Linked DNA regions of Homo sapiens: region 1 is linked to region 2. Evidence: promoter capture Hi-C in human tissues and cell types (Jung and others, 2019). All regions are on one chromosome and are shown on one strand. The core of a region is centred on a gene start or on the middle of the fragment in contact, and the rest is flanking DNA. Distances in the headings are between cores, read along the strand shown. Region 1 has its middle 96 kb from the start of LINC03018. Region 2 holds the start of PENK (proenkephalin).

Region 1 (3,591 bases), core at 74-2,573, 1.2 Mb after region 2:
TATAAAATCATGGTCTTTGCTTTGGATGTCCCATCAGATAAGCATGACAGAGAGAAACATCAGCATGTTTCAGGGCCCCAACAACCTACGAGGCAGATGTAATGCAGAGTCTGAGAAGTTGGAGGAATTGGGATTGCCTAATACCCATTGTAGGTTAGGCTTAGTGCTGGAAATGAGATTAAGCAGAACAAGTTGGTAAAAATGATGTTGCCCCAATTATGCAGAGAAGAATGGGTGTTGATCACTTAGGGTCTGGCATGAAACAGATGACACACTCAGTGGGATAAGTGAAGAGAGGTTAATGAAGACATGATTTACAAAGGTACAGATAGATTTAAAGGAAATTAACTGAGGATAATGATGCACATCAGAGCTAATAAATAAATAAGTAAATAAGCCAGGGAATGTTACTACTCCTAGGCCTGAAGGGGCATGAATAGAGAGCAGCTTTAGGAGAAGATCACTCAGTAAGACCTATGGGCTTTGGCCATGGAACAGAGCCATTGTTGATCTTTGGTCCAGTAGAGAGGGAGCTCAAGGAATAGATCCTTCGATTTCTCTATCCGCAAACTATGATATCCTGCTGGTACCTCCTGTTGGCCAAACTTGAAGCCAGAGGGCAAGAAGCTCAGCTAAAGCACTTCCTAGAGTACAGTGTCCAGGGACAGCAGAGAGGGATAATGGATGGGTCTGAAGGGGCAAACAGCAAATGGCCAGAGCAGGCACAGGTCCTGGGAACCAGGGTGGGGTGTGTGTGTGTGTGTGCATGTGTGTGCATGTGCGTGTGTGTGTGTGTATTCCTTCTCAAGATTGCTCTCATTTGCATTATTAAATTTTATTTTTATAATCTTTGAGAGCTATTGCAAAGCTTTTGTATCCAAGATACTTTTCTTTCTATATTATCAGAAGTTCTGATCTTCGTAACTAGATTTGTGTAGACCGTAGATAGACCCTTTTACAATAAATCAAGCTTTGATTGCAGAAAACCAATGACTATGATTTCTCTACTTAGAGTTCCCAAAATTGGTCTTTGTTACATTCTTTGAGTGTGTTGATATTTTCCCTCTATCAATAAGTCAAAGTCATAGATAAAATATATTTTAATATGATGAAACCAGAAGAAACTGTGCTTTCCAATATGCAAGATGGAAGACTTAAGCAGTTGTTTTATCCAACTTGAACTCCACCTTGGAACACATGGACTTGCTTCCTGTACTTTGTCTATCAGGAGGGCAATAAAGATCTGATCTAAGCCAGAGAGTGCAGAACTAAACATTGACCTCCCTTTGCAAAAGAATATAACCTCAAGGGAAACTGATCATGAGAAGGAAATTAAATCTTCTAGTTAAATTATGGATTTACAGAGAGGAAATTCTATTCTTCCCTGAATAGGTTCAGGAATCTTGTGTGACTTTGAAGACAAAGACACACCATGTACTGTGTAGGTCAGTTAGTGAACTAAATGACAAAGTAGAAGTTGCCAAAAGAGGTAGATAACAAAACAAATGAAAAATAATTAAAGTGCCATTAATGGCAGTAGTCTACATTTTATCCCTGCCCAAACCAGGATTAGAACAAGTGTGAGACACAGCAGTAGGTGGAGGATTGGAGTGAAGGATAGAGGTGCCATTTCAGGAGCTGAGGCCTCATTAAAGTGGGAGATGGCACTGGTGAGCAGAATGAGATAGGGACAGGCACCATTTCTGTGTGATAGTGAGCAGTTTATGTCCCTTCCCTGATCCTATTGATAAAAGGGCCTGAAGGGGCAAGAATAGAAAGTAGCTTTAGGAGGGGATCATGCCATATAAGTTATGGCTGGTGTGATGATAACATCTGCCTCATTCACAACAGTAAAAGAAATGCTAACATTCGAGGGTTCCATCTGCAAGACAGTATAATTCAGTCTGTTAATTTTTTATGTTTGGAGGAATTTTTTATGTGCATGGAGGAAAGGTAGAAAATGGTTTCTTGTGAATTTTGTAGATAAATTTCTAGGAGTGTTGTGAACATTGCTTCATTTACAGGGATTGACTTGGGCCTAATTAAAGACTGGTTAGGTAAAATGGTATTTATTACTACCAGGTACACCACAGGAATTAGCACTAAGTACAGTAATGAGTAATTTGAATAATCAGTTTGGCAGATAGTGAGACAGGGCAATACTGTGTCATCACTGAGAGAGATGAACTCTCCCTTGTTTAGAGAAAAAAACAGAATAGAGTCCAGTTGGATACTTGTACCATGACTCACTAAGCCTGTAGCATAGACAGAGTGTGAATATTACAGATGCATCACACAAAGTGGAAGGCAGGAAGAGAGACATAGAAGACTTTAGCACATTAACTTGGCTTTCTGAATGACTCCATTTTCTGATTCTATGCATGATCCTCCATCCTCAATTCTCTTCTTACCTGCAAGTGTTTGTTTAATGTAAACTTTGGCTGGCCCTATTGGTCTATTAATTGAGATTTAGCTAGGGAGAGTATGAACAGGAATTACATTGAAGACTGATTTGATTTAGGCTTTCCTCTTTAAATTAACATTTTGGGGTGCCTTTAGCATACTGTGTGCCATCCTGGACATTGGAGGGTCAGTGCAAGTATCTCTGCCTTTGTCTGGTAAGATCAGTCAACATACTGGAAAAACATCACCTATGGCTCCCACGAGTACTCATGGCTTGGGGTTCAGGTCTCCGGATGGTAAGTCTGATGGTGAGAGGCAGCTTATCAGCTTCCATGTGCTATTTATGTCCTGGAATTGGGAAATTTTGTGCAGAATTGAAGTGATTTCTTCTATTCATGAAATCTTTTTATTATGACATAGAAATCTTTACCCGCATTTAAAATTCACCTTTGAGATTTCTTTTCTTTTTTCCTTTCTTTTTTTTTTCTTTTTTCTTTTTTTTTTTTTTTGATACAGAGGTCTCTCTCTGTCACCCAGTGGTGCTATCTCAGCTCACTGCAATCTCTGCCTCCCACATTCAAGCTATTCTTGTGCCTCAGCCACCCGAGTAGCTGAGATTACACACCTGGCTAATTTTTGTATTTTTAGTAGAGATGGGGTCTCGCCGTATTGGCCAGTCTGGTCTTGAACTCCTGGATTCAAGTGATCCACCCACCTGGGTCTCCCAAAGTGCTGGGATTATAGGTGTGAGCCACAGTGCCTGGCCATCTTTGAGATTTCTAAAAGAAAACTGGGCCATATCAGTTTAGTCTTCCAATGCTTAGACTCTGAAGAAAAAAAAAGCAAAGTGAGAGAAACCACAGAAAACATCCTCAGATGGCTCTTGAACCAGCAGTTCTTGGGTCTTATAGGCCATCAGTTCAAGGACAACATTCTGTCCATTAATATTTTCTTCAGAATTCTAATATTCTTCAAGATGCTGCCTTTAAAATCATATAATTCTTGAAATTCCCTTCTTCAGTGAAACCCTTCCTTGTCACTCTAGAGAAAAGATACATCTCTTTTTTCCTAAATAATTTAAAACTCAATTCTTTTGCCAATTGCTGGATACTGACCCTATATTTCCTTGATCTTTTTGAATACCAATGTCTACCTTTCAACTGGAAGCCCCTGGAGGTAAAGTTGTTG
Region 2 (3,588 bases), core at 1,085-3,584:
TAGAATCCATATAACCTTTATTCAGATGGCAGAGAAAGCTAGGGGAGGGGGCTGAGCCCCTGACATGTTGAGCAGGCAAAGCTCAAAATATGTGTGACTGGGCACAGGGAATTATGGGGTCAGAAAGTGGAGTCTTCTATGTGGCATGTTTTGGATTTTTCTTCCTCCTTCTGTGTCTAAAATTCTTTATCCACAAGATCTATCCTTATATTTGTAGCACTGGCTCAATTTTTAGGCATAGGTTAAAAGCTCATGACTACAGGAGAAAGAAGAAAGATGGGTGAAGGGGATTGTTTCTCCTATTGAAGATGAAACATTTTTCTCATAGTTTAAATATACAACCTTCCTATGTGTCTTCTCTTTAATGCCAAGTTAGCACAGGTCAAAGAAACAAACATTTAACCTGAAATATATACCACAGATATTTGGAAACTGTTCCTTGGTTTTCTCCCCATTTCAAACATCTACATAAGGTAAAATTTCCTCAATTCCAGGTGGAACCCAAAGCAGCTTGGATGAATACATTATTCTCTATGAGCTTTTTAAGTCACCATAAAATTTCAACAAATTTCAAAAGCAATGCAAAGGAATTGTCAGGGGAGCTGGTAAAAGTGAAGCTACCTGAGTCTCGAGGTTGGAGATTCAGACTCAGTAGAGCACCAGAGGTGATTCGACAGCCCATGGGGAACCATGATCAGAATGAAAGTTATTTTGTCCTCAGCTTTTTCTTTCCCCAACCCCCTGTAGTGCAGTGTATCTTTGGACTGTTGTCACCCATTGGACACTGGCCACTTCTCTTGTTCCTTTCTCATAGCCAAATTAAACTGTTGTTTTAGTTACTATTACAAAGGGCAGTTGAAACAGAAGTTGAATTCCAGCATCACTGGCTAGTGAGACAGTTTGAACTCTTTCCTGTCTACGGTTATTTCGCCTTCCTCTCCCCGTACCCCTTTTCCATCCCTTTGCTCTCTCCTATTTACAGGTGAGGGTAGGGAATGAGGGACCTGAGGTTAAGAGAGCTGGGGAACATAAATCTAAAGAAAGGCACCGAAATGTCACTAACAAAAAATTACATTATTTGTGGGAAAGATGGGAAGATGACTGCGTGTGGAGGGGCCCTTAGCTGGGATATGTTAGGAGTTGTGGTGACAGCCATCTTCCTTCTGACAGCCCAGGAGAGAACCCAGTGCTATCCGAGGTGCTGAACAGAGGACTTCTCGGGGTTCCCGAATTCCCAGGGTTAAAACAAACTTGGTTTGTGCGGCGACACCGCTACCCTTACCGGTCCCCAGATAGTCGCGGATCCCCGAAGCTAAGAGCCAGGGCAGGACTTCAGTCAGTGTTCCAGGAACAGCTGAGACACCCAGGTCACCACGGGCTCGCGCCGCTGCGGCTCCGACCCGGTGCGAACCGCCATACGCGCCGCGCGGTGGGCCGGAGGCAGTCCGCGTACTGTTGCGGAAACTCTGTCTCACAAGGTGCGCAACACTCGCCGCGCGCAACACTCACCAGGAAGTTGATGTCGGCCGGGCGCACTAGGCGGTAGCTGCACGTCGCGCAATCCTGGCTGCATTCGGCCCGCACGGTCGCCAGGAGCCCGGGGCCGAGCAACAGCAGCCAAGTGCAAAGTGTCAGGAACCGCGCCATGGACTGCGAGGAGAGAGGGACGCGTGCTTCGAGCCTGCCTGGGCGCAGAACGGGGTCCCTCGGCAGGACCCTCGCCGCGACAGCCTCAGCAGGGGATCGTCGAGCAAAAGCCCGCAGGAATGCTCCTTTCTGGGGCCCCGCCCTCCCGGCCGACAGCTTTTAGGTAGACGTGGAGGCGACTCAGATCGCCTCGCGGTTCCCGGGATGGCGCGGTCGCCCCCAACGCGAGGCTGCCTGGGGCACCCGGCTCTTTTCCTGGGCGTCCGCGGCCCAGGGCAAGATTCCGGAGAGAACGCCGCAGACCAGGGGCGAGAGAGCGGGAGCCGGGGGAGGCAGGACATTGACTGGGGTCACAAAGAAGAACCAGGGAACGCTGTTGGGGAACCCATGCAATGAAATGTGAAGGGAAAGAGGGCGGGCAGACGTCCCCAAACCCGCTCAGCAAAGACAAGCTTCGGGCAAATTCACTCACGTTGACGCTGTTCGGATGGAGCAGGCCAATTGGAAAAGCCGGGTTCAGACACGACTCTAGAGGGAAGAGAAGAAGGCAAGTGTGAGGAGGGCGGGCGTCGGGGAGAAGCGGGCCCGGGTGTGCTGGCGGACGTAGGGCCTCACCGTCGCGGTCCTCAGCGTCTCTGCGGGGTCACGGGCCAGGCTGCGGGGCTCTGAGCGCCTGCCTCGCCGTCCCGGGGCTTAACGGCTGCTGGAGCCACTTTATAATTAGCCCCAAACCGAAGGAGGCGCGCGCGCCCCAATCGCCGGCGGGCTGCAGCTGACGCAGGCCCTACGCCAGCCCCGCGCCGACGCCTTCGCGGGAGGGGTCGGTCCCCCAGCACCCGCGCGCCGCTCCCCCCGCCGAGCTCGGGTGGGGGCCACAGGGGGCGCTCGGTGGCTCCCCACACGGCCAGGTGACAAACCCAAGGCAGTTAGGAAGTTTGGGGAGAGTGAGATAGGATCAAGTTTCTCCGCATAAAGTCACTGAAATTGCACCGTGGGATGCGGGCTCCAGGGAGGGAAGCGAGGTGGGGGCGTTTGGAAGGATAGATGGACTGGCTTAGACTTCTGGAATGTGCTGGAGACCCAGCGGGCCGGTGAACCTGCCCCTTTCCCGCCTCCTCCCTGGGCCCCCTCGCGGGTCCCCGTGGGCACCAAGCACAGCCGTCCGGAATGTCGTCATTTATTGACCAACCTGTCCCCCACACTTGACTCCGAGTTCCTTACTGCAGCATCTAACAGCGTCAAGGTGCGCAGTTTAGGCGCTCAATTAATGGTTACAGGAACTGAACGATTGAAAGTTTCTGGGAATCTTAAAATCTCAGGACAGAATTTTCACCTTTCCAGTTAGAGACCCTTGGCCAAGCGTAGAAGCAGGTAAACCCTCAGGTTCCGGGACTGCGCGCTTTTCAGCCACTGTGGGAGAGGATCCGTGTTTAACCAGCTCCCCGGGGCTCCCAAGTCGAAGACCTACTGCCTTGAGAGCGCTGTCCAGGGTGTCCGGGGGTGTTGGATCAGTGAGAGGGGGGTGCCGGGGCGGGTGTAATGTCAGCGCGCCAGGAGTGTGGTGGGGAGGGAGGGATGAGGGACACCCTACCCGGGACGCCGGGGCTTGGAACCTCTTCTCCACCGGGAGGGGGCCGAGGGCACACTGTGGAGGCTGGTACTGTCCATTAAGACACGCTTTCCCGCTTCCTGGCTCTGCAAAAGATTGCTAAGCGGCAAGCTGCTTACATTGCCTGAGGCCTCAGTTTCCCTATTTGAAAAATAGGAACAGAGGTAATATGCCATTCATAAGGTTCTGGAGAGAATCAAATGAAATAGTGGACGAAATCTCTTAGCCTTGTGCCTGGCACTATAGCAAGCCCTCAAAACATCTTCTAACCATCCGTCATCCGTCCGTCCACCTTTCCATCTGTGACCATTGTCTGCTTACCTTATAGCTAC

Evidence for each region. The method cuts DNA at HindIII sites, captures the fragments that hold promoters and counts their contacts. A contact is called where the count stands out against the background at its distance.
Region 1: a contact is called between a fragment that was not itself captured here and the fragment with the promoter of PENK in region 2, in 1 of the 25 tissues and cell types used here (dorsolateral prefrontal cortex).

What each region holds. Positions count from the first base shown.
Region 1 is chr8:57,648,531-57,652,121 of GRCh38, forward strand. No RefSeq gene overlaps it. Among named protein-coding and RNA genes, the nearest start is that of LINC03018, 96 kb to the right of the region's middle. The HindIII fragment of the contact is 3,939 bases long and covers 1-3,293 here.
Region 2 is chr8:56,444,307-56,447,894 of GRCh38, forward strand. It overlaps PENK (proenkephalin), which reads right to left and starts at 2,335. Exons shown (of 4, transcript NM_001135690.3): 1 at 2,263-2,335; 2 at 2,120-2,175; 3 at 1,510-1,650. The coding sequence starts at 1,647. It overlaps PENK-AS1 (PENK antisense RNA 1), which reads left to right and starts at 1,501. Exons shown (of 4, transcript NR_125813.1): 1 at 1,501-2,194. RefSeq lists an enhancer at 1,106-1,997. The HindIII fragment of the contact is 6,864 bases long and covers 529-3,588 here.